Regions from separate parts of the Homo sapiens genome. Here all the other regions are linked to region 1. The links are contacts of gene promoters, found by promoter capture Hi-C in blood cells and fetal thymus (Javierre and others, 2016). All regions are on one chromosome and are shown on one strand. Each heading gives the region's core, a stretch centred on a gene start or on the middle of the fragment in contact. The rest is flanking DNA. Distances are from core to core; before and after follow the strand shown. Region 1 holds the start of ZNF607 (zinc finger protein 607). Region 2 holds the start of ZNF383 (zinc finger protein 383). Region 3 overlaps ZNF383 (zinc finger protein 383).

Region 1 (4,544 bases), core at 663-3,162:
ACAATTTTTCTCACTCTTTGGGTAGCTTCTCACATTCTTGGTGGGTTTTGAAGCACAATGTTTTACAATTTATGTCCAATTTCCTTTTTTGATGTTGTTGCTTGTGATTCTGATGTCACGGTTAAGAAACAATTGCTGACTATAAAGTCCAGAAGATTTATGCCTACATTTCCTTCTAAATGTTCTACTGTTTTAAGTCTTACACCTAGGTGTTTGATCCATTTTGAGTTGATTTTGTATATGGTGAGAGGCAGGGAACTCAATTCATTCCTTTCTATGTGCATCTCTAATTCCAGTCTTTTCAACAAAGACTACTCTTCCCTTCCTTAAAATGCCTTGGTATCCTTGTTGAAAATAGTATGTGGAGCCGGGCGCAGTAGCTCATGCCTATAATCCCAGCACTTTGGGAGGCCAAGGCGGGCAGATCATCTGAGGTTGGGAGTTCGAGACCAGCCTGACCAACATGGTAAAACCCTGTCTCTACTAAAAATACAAAATTAGCTGGGCATGGTGATGCATGCCTGTAATTCCAGCTACTCAGGAGGCTGAGGCAGGAAAATCGCTTGAACCTGGGAGGTGGAGGTTGCAGTGAGCCAAGATCGTGCCATTGCACTCCAGCCTGGGCAACTAGAGCAAAACTCCGTCTCAAAAAGAGAAAAAAGAAAAAGAAAATAATATGTGGAGTCAATTTAATCCATTGATCTATGTGTGGTATTTCTGAGAGATTATTCAGGAGATTCAGGAGCAACAAATCCAAGAACTAATTAAGAGAAGAAAAAGTGATCAATAAGTTCTTAAATTGTAACTTTAATAGTTTTTTTTCCTTGACTATTTGTATTTTTGAATGGTGATTTTTTAGTTTTGTTCCTTTTCCTCTTAGGGTATAGACAAATATTTTTTATTTTTAAATTAATTTTACTTATTTATTTTTTGAGACAAGGTCTTGCTCTGTTGCTCAGGCCAGAGTGCGGTGACACCATCATACCTCACTGAAGCCTGAACTTCCGGGCTCAACTGATCCTCCTACCTTTGTCTTTGGAATAGCTGGGCCCACAGGCGTGTGCCACCACACCAGGCTAACTTTCATTTTTGGTAGAGTTTGGGAGGAGGAGAGGGGTGTCTCACTATGTTTCTTAGGCTGGTTTTGAACTTCTGGCCTCAACTGATCCTCCTGCCTTGGCCTCCGAAAATGCTGGGATTAAAGGCGTGAGCCACCGTGCCCAGCCTGTATTCATCAATATTTTATTAAGCCAAAGAAACAGGAAATTCGGACTATTAAATATTTGTCCGTTTTAGCTGTTGTAAATATTTCCCCCAAATTTACTTACCTAAAAATTTTTCTTATTCGTTTTTTACCATTTGGAAATTTTGGATGCTTCTAAATAACTATGAAGATTTACAAAGTATTACATGAAGGATCAAAAAAATTTTTTAAATTTCTTATTTTATCTTCAAGAAGCCTATTCCAGAACAAAAATAATAAAACTATTTAGCAGTTATTTCTTCAGATGATTTTTTAGTCAAATTTTTAGTCAAATATATTCGTGTCCAAAGATGAAGAACATAATGTCATGTATTGAAGAATGTGATGGAACTTCAAACCCTCATATAGGACGTGAGTCCATTTACTTAGCGCTTGACGAGACAAGCTGGGCCTGTCGGGTGGTATTAAAAGTCCCAGTCCCATGTGTTACCAAGGAGGCCGGCTCTACCTCAGGAGCCATGAGGGTTTCGGCGCCCCACCCTGAGGAGCTCACACCCATCCAGCAGGTGATCCCTTCCGAGGCTACCTGGATCAGTTTCTACTCAGACTCGCCTCCTACTGGCCCTAAGAACGCACTAACTCCACCCTAAGCCTCAGGCCAGGGGCCCAGTAGTGGCCGATCTGCGCATGCGCACTCGAGGCAAGGCGGCCACTCCCAGAAGTCTCCGGGGCTCGAGCGGTGGGTGGGAGGCGCGGTCCAAGTGGTCGCTGCCGTATTTCTCGTAGGTTTTTAGGATTCTGGACTCCATTTCTCACCGGTACCTGCGGTCCTGACTGTTCTGGCTTGGACTACATATTACAAAGGCAACGGAGAAAACTTGGACCCCTGGCTCCGGTTCCGGGACCTTTTGGTTCCACCTGAAGAAGGCGGCGCAGGTCACTGCGGGAGCCTCTGCAGCCCCAGCCCGCCGCCCGCGTGGTACCCTGCGTGGCGGTGAGAGTGGGGCTGCAGGAGGCGCTCAGAGCGCGGAGGCCCCCAGGCGGGCCGGGCGAGTCTCCCGCCTCCTCAGGCCCTAGGGTGCTGGAGCTGCGGAGGAGGGGCCCGTCTCTAGGAGACAGGCGGGGAGCGTGAGAGACCGCGCAGCGGCGACAGGACCGGCTTGCCTGTGTGACGTGGGTGCAGTTGCGGGACTGTGAGGGGTGCGTAGTCGACCTTGTGTGACCTGTACATGCCGTGTGTGTCCTTTGTAAAGCGTGCTTCGCTGGGCTCTGTGGGGTCTATTGACCCTTGGCTCCAGGTTCCCTGCTGCTTCCTGTGCCTTCCTCAGCCTAGTACGACTACAACAGAGAAATGGTCCCAATGGGAAATCAGATACTGAGTCTTAGATGAAGATTTCCAGTGAGAAGAAACAGATAGGATGAGAAGCTTAGAAGAGTAATTGCCCTTAAGAAAGGTATGATAGATTCTGTTAAATAAAAAAGTATTCAGTGACACTTGTTAAAGCATGCAAAGAACCCTTTATTCAGGACCATGGTGGTAGGTATTGGGATCCCGGCTGTGAGATTTTGCAGTGGGTAACAGACATTGGGCTCAACTCCGAATTCAGCATGAACAAGTGGGAATTTATAGCCAAGAAGGTTAGGGATCACTGGATGAGAAATTACTAAGAGGAAATGTCTGGGTTAAGGAAGATTCTGACTAAACGCACCTAACAGGATTATTTCTGGAGAGAGAGACCTGGGGGACGGTGGAGGATGAAGATACGGAGGCGAAAGGGTCTTGCTAAACTGACTTAGAATAGTTCTTTGCTATAGCCAGATTTTACAGTGAAGTGTACAGATGGGCCTAGCTGAAGGTGTAGTAGCCTGACTAAAATTTGGTCTGGCAGGGTTTGTCAGTTTCGAGTGTAGGATTCCCTCCTGAAAAGGGTTGTTACTCCGCCCCCACCTCCCGGTTCTTGGAGTTTCATTTACATGTTTAACAAACACGGCCTTGAATTCTGACCCCAAGAACCTGCAGTGAAGGATGATTGCAGGTTCCATCCAACATACTTCCTTCTGGTCGTGTGTATGAAATTACGCGCCTGCAGCCTTGGAGGGGGGAAACATAAGCGCTAAGTATTATGAGGCAATTTTGGATATTCCGTTTTGGATTTCTGTAGATCAAAAGCAACAAGAATATGAACTTAGCCGTGATGTGAAGGAAGTGAGCCAGAATTTAAGTTTTCCAAAATAGGAATTCTCGGTCATTGGTGTACTGTCTGTAGACCAATGCCCTTATGGGCATAAGGGACATCACAAACCCCCTGAAATTCTATAAAGAATTCCTGTACATGTTTGTTAATTTGCATTTTTCTAGGATGTCCATAATCCAAATTATTTAGACTCAGGTTTTAGATCTGGAATCAAAGAGTTTTATACCTTTGAATGGTTTTGCAGAAAACTAATGAACGAGATTATGGGAATGGTTAAGAAAATTATACAGCGTCCAAGGGATTGGATATTATACAAATAATAAGATTTATGTTTGTAAAGAATCTGTCACAGGATAAATAGCTGTGATCTAATGTTTAACACTATTTAGAGTTACAGTGGTGGATCACAGTTCTCAAACTATATATGCAACTCTTTTTCTTTCTTTTTTTTTTTTTTTTTTTTTTTTGAGACTGAGTTCCGCTCTTGTTGCCCAGGCTGGAGTGCAATGGTGCGATCTCTGCTCACTGCAACCTCCGCCTCCCGGGTTCAAGCGATTCTCCTGCCTCAGCCACCTGAGTAGCTGAGATTACAAGCATGGGCCACCATGCCTGGCTATTTTTTTTTTTTTTTTGTATTTTTAGTAGAGACGGGGTTTCTCCATGTGGGTCAGGCTGGTCTTGAACTCCCAACCTCAGGTGATCCACCCACCTTGGCCTCCCAAAGTGTTGGGATTACAGGCGTGAGCCACCACGCCCAGCCGCAGCTCATTTTTTAAAAATGGAATTTTGGGCCTGGCACAGTGGCTTCCGCCTGTAATCCCAGCACTTTGGGAGGCCGAGGCGGGCAGATCATGAGGTCAGGAGATTGAGACCATCCTGGCTAACATGGTGAAACCCCGTCTCTACTAAAAATACAAAAAATTAGCCGGGCGTGGTGGTGGGCGCCTGTAGTCCCAGCTAGTCGGGAGACTGAGGCAGGAGAATGGTGTGAACCTGGGAGGCGGACCTTGCAGTGAGCCGAGATCGAGCCACTGCACGCCAGCCTGGGCGACAGCGCGAGACTCCGTCTCAAAAAAATAAAATTTAAAATTAAAATTAAACAAAGGGAATTTTGCAAAAACTTTTGCAAGGATTGTATCCAAAAT
Region 2 (4,544 bases), core at 439-2,938, 500 kb after region 1:
GTCACCCAGCCACCATGGGGACCCACATAGACCTCCACAGGCACGCCTCACCCAAACAATAACACTATATATGGTCACACAATCATTGTCCCACATCTACCTTGAGGATAAGTTACACTAGCATATTTACAGACCCCTCAAACATAGCACCATTCAGAACCAGAGTGCTACAGATAGTCACAATACCACACGCACTACTGAGCCACACAAAGTTACAGTTCCCCCCTCCCCAGGACCCCTATTGAGCACTACACACAATCACACATTCAAAATAACACAATGACCACTAGGACACACATATCACCCCGGCACGATTACACGCACTTTCCAACCGCAGACACAGTGCTACATAAAGTTACATGGTCACACTCTCACATTCTCACGTTACTGGGTTATTTCTGGGTAGTAGATTTACTCAGTAAGGCATCCAGTACACTTAAGTGCTGCTAACAGTCATACAAACACAATTACACACACCCCTCAGACTAACACACAGTCACAGCCTCATCAGATTCTCTCCACACAAACACCCTCCACAAATGTCACGCAAAGTTACACAGCCACACACAATCACAGTCCCAACACGGGACACAGTCATACCTACACATACAGCCTTACATTGTTACAATTACACAACTACAACGAGGATATACAATCACACCCGCGCACACAGAGAGGCACAGTCACATAAGGTCACACTCACACACGGAAGCCCACGCCTCGCGCCCGCCTCCCCACCACCCCCTCTATCAGCCCGACCAACTCATACATGCCCGACACACTCATACATGCCCAACACTCCAGACCAGCCTGGTCAGTCCCTTCAAACTCCCATGCACGTACCTGCGGGCCCCAGCCGAGCCTGCAAGACCCAGGCCGCTCACCGCGCACTTCCCCTACCCTTGAGGCGGAGGGTCCAGCAGGCAAATGAAGGGGCTGCCCTGGACTCGCGGGGGCCTCTGGGAAATACAGTCCGGAGTAGGACCGCGCCGAGAAGATGGCGCCTGTTTTTTCGGGTTCTTGCAGCTGCACAGCTCGGGGACATCCCTGCTCCGCACTCCGAACCGCTACCCCGCGTCTCCGTGATCCAGACACAGGCTCAGAGTGAAACTGCCGTAGGACGCTGGCCCTGCACGCTGAAGACAATCTTCCTCCATGGTACCGGCCAACCCCAGGGAGTTCCCTGAGAAACAGGAAAAGGTCGCCAGCTTCGGGCCAGATGTTGACTAGAGCCGCAAGGATTTTTGGGAACTGTAGTCTAGAGCAGGAAGGGGTGAGGCGCTGGGGCAAGTGGAAGGAGGTCGCTTAAATGACTTCCTGCCCCAAGCCGACTCAGTGCAGAACGCACCCAGGACCCCGGACTGTACTAGGCGTTATAACGCTCTCTGAGAATGCTAGACTGACTAAATCGTCATTTTTGCCTTCATCCGTGGATAAGCCACATACTGTATGACTGCATTTATAGGAAATATTTAAAATAGTCAAATCTACGGAAAAGGAGTAAGTTAGAGTTTTTTAGGACTAGCAGGATTAGGGGGAACTGTGAGTGATTGGTAATAGCTAAAGGGTTCATTTTTGGGGTAATGCAAAGCTTCTTGAATTAGATAATGATGTTTGCACAACTCTGAATACACTAAAAGTGACTGAATGGTACACCATAAACGAGCTAATGTTATAGTTTGTAAATTATATTTGTGTGCATGTTTTTTAAAAATCAACTTTACTGAAGAATAATTTAGATACAATAAAATGCACTCATTTTAAGTGAACTGTTCGGTAAGCTTCAACGCATGTCTAAACCCTTGTCACCACCATCGTAATCAGGATATAGAATATTTTTTAAAATTAAAAAATTTTTAAGCATTTTAGTTAAATTTTTGTGGGTACATAGTAGTTGTATATGGGGTACATGAGATGTTTTGATACAGGCATGCAATGCGTAAGAATCATATCATGTAAAATAGGGTGTCTATCCCCTCAAGCATTTATCCTTAGTGTTACTGGATATAGAATTTTTTTTTTTTTTTTTTTGAGTTGGAGTCTAGCTGTCACCCAGGCTGGACTGCAGTGGCGAGATCTCGGCTCACTGCAAGTTCCGCCTCCCGGGTTCAAGCGATTCTCCTGCCTCAGCCTTCCGAGTAGCTGGTATTACAGGTGCCCGCCACCATGCCTGGCTAATTTTTGTATTTTTAGTAGAGACAGGGTTCGAGCTCACAGGCTGGTCTCGAACTCCCGACCTCGAACTTCTGACTTCGTGATCCGCTCGCCTCGGCCTCCCAAAGTGCTGAGATTACAAGCGTGAGCCACCGCGCCCGGCGGATATAGAATATTTTTATTCACCGCCCTCTGCCCCCCACATTGTTAAGTCAATCCCCACCTCCCAAACCCCACATCAGGCATCTATTGACTATTCTAAGGAATGAGCAGTAGTATCAAATTATGTTTTTAATTTGCATTTCCTGATGTCAATGAACTTAGCATACTTTCATATACTTATTTGCCATTCTTTTATCTTCTTTTGTGACATCTATTGAAAATATTCGGCTGGGCGCAGTGGCTCACGCCTGTAATCCTAGCACTTTGGGAGGCTGAGGCGGGCAGATCACCTGAGGTTGGGAGTTCGAGACCACCCTGACCAACGTGGAGAAACACCGTCTCTACTAAAAATACGAAATTGGCCAGGCGTGGCGGTGCATGCCTGTAATCCCTGCAGGAGAATCACTTGAACCCGGGAGGCAGAGGTTGCTGTGAGCTGAGATCACACTGTTGCACTCCAGCTAGGGCAACAAGAGCAAAACTGCATCTCAAAAAATAATAATAAATAAATAAATAAATAAAATTTTCTTATTTTAAAATTGGTTATTATTGAGTTGTAACAATTCTTTATATGTTTGGGTAAAAGTCCTTTGCCAAATATACATATTGCAAATTGCAAATATTCTCTCCCTGCCTGGGGCTTACCTTCTCAGTTTTTTTTTTTTTTTTTTTTTGAGACAGGGTCTTGCTCTGTTGCCTAGTCTGGAGTGCAGTGGTGTTAACATAGCTCACCACAGCCTTGACCTCCTGGGTTTAGTCGATCCTCCTGAGTAGCTGGGACTGCAGGTGTGCACCACCACCCCCAACTAATTTTCTTGTGTTTTGTGGAGATGGGGTCTCACTGTGTTATTACAGGTGTGAGTCACTGTGCCCAGCCCTCAGTTTCTTCATGATGTCTTTCAAAAAGCAGTTTTTACTTCTGATGAAATCCAATTTCTCATCTTTAAAATGTGCTTCATGCTTTCTGGTCTTTCTAACAATCTTTGACTCCTCTAGTGTTGTGAAGAATTTCTCCTATGTTTTATTCTAAAGGTTGTATAGTTTTAGTTTTTATTTTTGGTCTATCATCCACTTGAAGTTAGTTTTTGTGTATGTGAGGTAATGTTCAAAGTTATTATTTTCCAGATGGAAATTCAGTTGTTCTAACATCACATGTTAACAAAACTATCATTTTCCTCTTGAATGACCTCAACATCTAAAGTAGGCAGGATAATGTTCCCCCCAAAATACCCACATGCTAGTTCCTGGGACTTGTGAATATGCTATGTTACATGGCAAGTGGAATTAAATTAACAGGTAGAATTAAAGTTGCTAATCGGCTGACCTTAACATAGGGGAATTATACTGGATTGTCCAGTTAGACCCAATGTAATCACATGGGGTCTGAAATGAGGAAGAAGGCATAAAGTCAGTGTTGGAATTGTGTGCTGTGAGAAACACACGACCAGCCATTATTGGGTGTAAAGATGAAAGGAGCCCATGAGCTGAGGAATGCAGGCAGCTTCTCCAACTTGGAAAATGAAAAAAAACAAATTCTCCAGAGCCTCCAGAAAGGAATGCAGCTTGCAAACTTTTGATTTTAGAGCAGAAAAAACTCATTTCTTTTTTTTAATTTTTAATTTATTTTTTTAATTTTTATTTATTTATTTTGAGATGGGGTCTCCCTCTGTTGCCCAAGCTGGAGTGCAGTGGTGGGATCTCGGCTCACTGCAACGTCTGCCTCCTGGGTTCAAGTGATTCTCCTGCCTCAGCCTCCCTAGTAGCTGAGATTACAGGCACCCACCACCATGCCCGGCTAATTTTTCTTTCCTTTTTTTTTTTTTTTTTTTTTTTTTTTTTAAGTAGAGACAGGGTTTCATCATGTTGGCTAGGCTGGTCTTGAACTCCTGACCTCAAGTGATCTGCCTGCCTTGGCCTCCCGAAGTACTGGGATTACAGGTGTGAGCCACTGCACCCAGCATTTTTTTTTTTTTTTTTTTTTTTTAGAGACAAGGTCTTGCTCTGTCTCCCAGGCTGGAATGCAGAGGTATGATCACAGCTCACTGCAGCCTCATACTCCTGGACTTAAGCATCCTTCCGCCTAGGCCTTCTGAGTAGCTGGGACTATTGGTGTACACCACCACACCTGGCTAATTGAAAAAAAAATTTATAGAGAGAGGGTTTAGTTATGTTGCCCAGTCTAGTTTCAAACTCCGGGCCTCAAGTAATCCTCCCACCGAGGCCTCCCA
Region 3 (4,544 bases), core at 1,222-3,721, 480 kb after region 1:
TTTTGAAACGCAGTGTCACTCTGTTGCCAGGCTGGAGTGCAGTGGTGTGATCTCGGCTCACTGCAACCTACACCTCCAGGGTTCAAGCGATTCCCCTGCCTCAGTCTCCCAAGTAGCTGGGACTACAGGCGTGCACCACCACGCCCGGCTAATTTTTTTGTATTTTAGGAAAGATGGGGTTTCACCATGTTGGCCAGGATGGTCTCAATCTCCTGACCTCATGATCCTCCCGCCTCGGCCTCCCAAAGTGCTGGGATTACAGGCGTGAGCCACTGCGCCCGGCAGATCTTGCAGTAACTTTCATCTAGTTAAGCTCCCAAGTAAAGTTTTGAAACTGCCCTCTTCTGTCTTCCACTGCCAATGTCATCTTCCAAACCAGAATCAACTCTTACCCAGACCAGTGAAGTAGCCTCCTCAACCAGTCTCCCCACCAAGCTCTCTCACCCTTTAATCTATTCAGGGAATAGTATCATTTGGCTTAGGTTTCCACTGCTCAAAGTCCGAACTCCTTACAATCTCCTGCAAAGGCTGAATGCTGTGGCTCCTGCCTGTCTATCCAAACCCTGACTCACACTCCACTCCCACTTGATCATGGGGCCCACCAACACTGGCATTTAGTCCTTCAAACACACCAAGCTTTTCCCCATCAGAACCTTCACAGGGGTTCTTCTCTCTGCCTGGAGTTTTCTTCTCTAGTAAAACATTAAACAAGACCTAGTGGCAAGCCTAGTACTACATTAATTCTGAAGTAGTGATGAGCATAAATATTTCAATATGCCTACAATAACAGTAAAATAATATGAACGTATCTGTGATTTCCATTAATGTCAAAGTCACAGTAACTACTACTACTACTACTGCTACTATGGTTTGTCCCATACATCACGATAGGAAGAAATGTTATATCTCAATTAGAGGTTATTAAATATAAAGATGTATTTTTGGTCTGGGCACAGTGGTTCATGCCTGTAATCCCAGCACTTTGGGAGACCAAGGCAGGTGGATCATGAGGTCACAAGTTCAAGACCAGCCTGGCAAAGATGGTGAAACCCCATCTCTACTAAAAATACAAAAATGAGCCGGGCGCAGTGGCAGGCGCCTATAATCCCAGCTACTCAGAAGGCTGAGGCAGTAGAATCGCTTGAACCTGCGGGGTGGAGGCTACAGTGAGCTGAGATCACACCACTGCACTCAAGCCTGGGTGACAGAGTGAGACTCCGTCTCAAAAAAAACCAAAAAGATGTATTTTTTTCTTCTCATCCAAGTTCATGGACTCCCTGAATTCTACCTAAAGGAATCCAAAGTTAGGAACCCCTAGAGCAAGAATGATCCTTTGCAAACATGATAATATCACTCTGCTAAATCATTCAATGGATTTACACCTCATTCGGAGTAAAATTCAAGGTCCACAAGACCCAAAATCATCTACAGGTACATCCAACTCCCATCCTGACCTGCACCCAGCATGCAAACACTCATAAGCCTGCTACTTTCCTGATCTCCTCTTCTACAATTCCCGCTTTGCTCATTCAATTTCAGCCATAATGGTGGCTGCCAAAAAGCTCTGAACTCGAGTACTTGGCTCTTCCTGTTCCCTTTGCCTGAATCTCTCCTAGCAGATATTTACATTACCTGTTCCCTCACTTCCTTCAAGTCTTCACTAAAAGAACACCTCATCAGAGAGGCCCTCTCTAGCCTCTCTTCACAGCACTTATCTATCACCCACCACCTGACATTTCATATACACATGGACATATAATAATATAGAAATATTATTAATATATGATATATATTTATACTATACCAATATATTAGTTACATGTAGATAAATGTAAGTGATATATAATTCTAAAAATATTTATATATCATATAATATTAATGTCATGCTAATATTGTTTTATACATATATACTTGACATTCATGTTTATCTTCTGCTATGGTTTGAATGTCTCTCCTTCAAAATTCAGCTGTTGCCAATGTGATAGTATTAAGAGGTGGGGGCCAGACACAGTGGCTCAAGCCTTTAATCCTAGCACTTTGGGAGGCCAAGGTGGGTGGATCGCTTGAACCCAGGAGTTAGAGACCAGCCTGGGCAACATGGCGAAACCCTGTCTCTACAAAAAATAGAAAAATTAGCTGGGCGTGGTGACGTGTGCCTGTGGGCCGAGCTACTCGGGAGGCTGAGGTGGGAGGATCACCTGAGCCCGGGAGGTTGAGGCTGTGGTGAGCCATGATTGTGCCGCTGCACTCCAGCCTGGGTGACAGAGTGAGACCCTGTCTCAAAAAAAAAAAAAAAATTCCAAAAACGAAGAGGTGAGGCCTTTAAGAGATGATCGGGCTTCAAGGACCCATCCCTCAAGGATGGGTTTCGGTGCTCTTACGAAGGGGCTTGATGGAAGGAGTTGGCTCTCTTGCCCTACTGCCTTCTGCCACACGAAGATGCAAGAAGGCCCTCATCAGATGACAGTGCCTTGATCTTAGAATTCTTAGCCTCCAGATCTATGAGAAAATAAATGTCTGTTCTTTATAAATTACTCGATGTGAGGTATTCTGCTGTAACAGCACAAAATGGACTAAGACATTTTCTCTCTTACCCTCTAGAATGTAGGCTTCAGAAGTGCAGAACTTTAGAATGCCTTCATGAATACTACAGTCCCAGCCCTTGGACCAATGCTTGGTACATAGTAGTGCTCAATAAGTACTCTTCTGGTTCTCCTACTTCATCCCAAATCTCTCCTGCTCTGCCACCTCTTCCTTTTTAATATAGGCACAGATCCTTTTTTTTTCTTGGCCCCAACAATATCTCTATACATAGTGATTGCAGTCACTTCCAAGGCTCCACCTACTACTTCAATAGGGATTAATTCCACTTCTACATAGTTAGCCTTTGACTTTCTGCTAAACTCCTTATCTCATTTCTCTTTTATACTACTCTACTTTGTGGAAGTCATATATGTATATATTTTAGCACCACTTTTGGACCTTGAATTTGTAAAGGTAACACAATTAGTAAACTGTAGCACCTGGAAGATTCCCTTACACAAACCAGGAAATTAAAAAACGTTCCATAAAGGAAACATTGAAGACAGTCTGATAAAACAGGTCACTGACAGGCAGCTATAATGAAGACCAGTACTTGGGCAAGGGGTGTGTGTGTGTGTGTCTCTGTGTGTGTGTGTGTGTGTGTGTGTGTGTGTGTGTGTGTGTTCACATGTGTGTATACAGACGCAATTATATTATTTTGGGGAGTGGTAGTAGAAAACACCTGTACAAGTCTAAAAAATGCAGAAGAGGGGCCGGACGCGGTGGCTCATGCCTGTAATCCCAGCACTTTGGGAGGCTGAGGCGGGTAGATCATGAGGTCAGGAGTTCAAGAACAGCCTGGCCAATATGGTGAAACCCCACCTCTACTAAAAATACAAAAATTAGCTGGGCATGGTGGCATGCGCCTGTAGTCCCAGCTACTCAGGAGGCTGAGGCAGAAGAATCGCCTGAACCCGGGAGGCAGAGGTTGCAGTGAACCAAGATCGCACCCTGCACTCCAGCCTGAGCGACGGAGCGAGACTCCGTCTCAAAAAAAAAAAAAAATGCAGAAGAAGAAAAAGAATTAGCCAGGCATGGTGGCACAGGCCTACGGTCCCAGCCACTTGGAAGGCTGAGGCAGGGAGACTGCCTAAGCCCAGAAGTTTGAGCCTACAATAAGTTATGATCATGTCACTGCACTCTAGCCTGGGTGACAGAGCCAGACCCTTTAAAAAAAAAGAAAAAAAAAGAGAGAGAGTAAAAAAAGCTAGCAAGCAGCTGAATCTAAAATACGGGTAAAATAGGGTTTTTTTTAGAGAAGTAAAAGGTACCTTCTGCTTGAAATTAAGAGGAGGATTGGAGAGGAGTAGTAGAAATAGTGGTAAGTGAGGAAAAGGGCGAAACAGGTTATTTAACAACTATGCTAAAAGGACTTCATTTTCTCCACTGGCCTAGTTTCTTGATGGGAGCTTCAGGGATAACATCTCAAAGGTGCTGTTTCCTCCCTGACCAGCTGAGTTCTGACCTATCGTGACTTTCTCCTGTCCGGTCATTTCTCACTTACCTGAACACAGGCCTCTTGTAAGCTCTCTGCCAACCATCCAGGGCTCTTTCCCTTGTTCCAATAAGGAGATCACTTGAGGCTTAGGAGTGTAAAGTCCTGCTCACGAGAAAAGATATGGAACATGGTTATGCTGGGGGTAAAGGAGATCCAGTCCCTTGATGATCACAGGAAGAGATGCCACTACAGGAACAGCCAAAGAAAGATGAAGATGAAGCTTCAACCACAGCCCACTGGAGTTGCCAATTTCCCACTCTTCCTTTTCATTTCAGCTCAAACCATTTGTTTGGTAATAAAGAATAGAAATTCAGCTAGTAACCTGAAAAGCAGCTGAGAAATTCACTGTGGAAGAAGGAGACATTCCAGAGGAGAACTGGGAATCACTGGTACAGATGCCCTTACCCATTGAAACCAGATTGCCGTAGTTCTCCAACATCACATCTCTGTATAAGTCCCTCTG

The links. Contacts are between HindIII fragments. The CHiCAGO score rates a contact against its expected background, and 5 or more counts as called.
Region 2: a fragment that was not itself captured here is called in contact with the fragment with the promoter of ZNF607 in region 1 in 1 of 17 cell types (fetal thymus); the score reaches 5.0 in fetal thymus.
Region 3: a fragment that was not itself captured here is called in contact with the fragment with the promoter of ZNF607 in region 1 in 13 of 17 cell types (total CD4 T cells, naive B cells, non-activated CD4 T cells and 10 more); the score reaches 10.3 in total CD4 T cells.

What each region holds. Positions count from the first base shown.
Region 1 is chr19:37,717,129-37,721,672 of GRCh38, reverse strand. It overlaps ZNF607 (zinc finger protein 607), which reads left to right and starts at 1,912. Exons shown (of 5, transcript NM_032689.5): 1 at 1,912-2,404. RefSeq lists silencers at 2,151-2,260, 2,321-2,410. The HindIII fragment of the contact is 3,190 bases long and covers 1-2,632 here.
Region 2 is chr19:37,214,574-37,219,117 of GRCh38, reverse strand. It overlaps ZNF383 (zinc finger protein 383), which reads right to left and starts at 904. Exons shown (of 6, transcript NM_001387601.1): 1 at 844-904. RefSeq lists an enhancer at 789-1,278. The HindIII fragment of the contact is 190 bases long and covers 1,594-1,783 here.
Region 3 is chr19:37,235,618-37,240,161 of GRCh38, reverse strand. ZNF383 (zinc finger protein 383) reads right to left here. Exons shown (of 6, transcript NM_001387601.1): 4 at 4,487-4,544; 5 at 4,088-4,183. Among named protein-coding and RNA genes, the nearest start is that of LINC01535, 14 kb to the left of the region's middle. The HindIII fragment of the contact is 3,665 bases long and covers 639-4,303 here.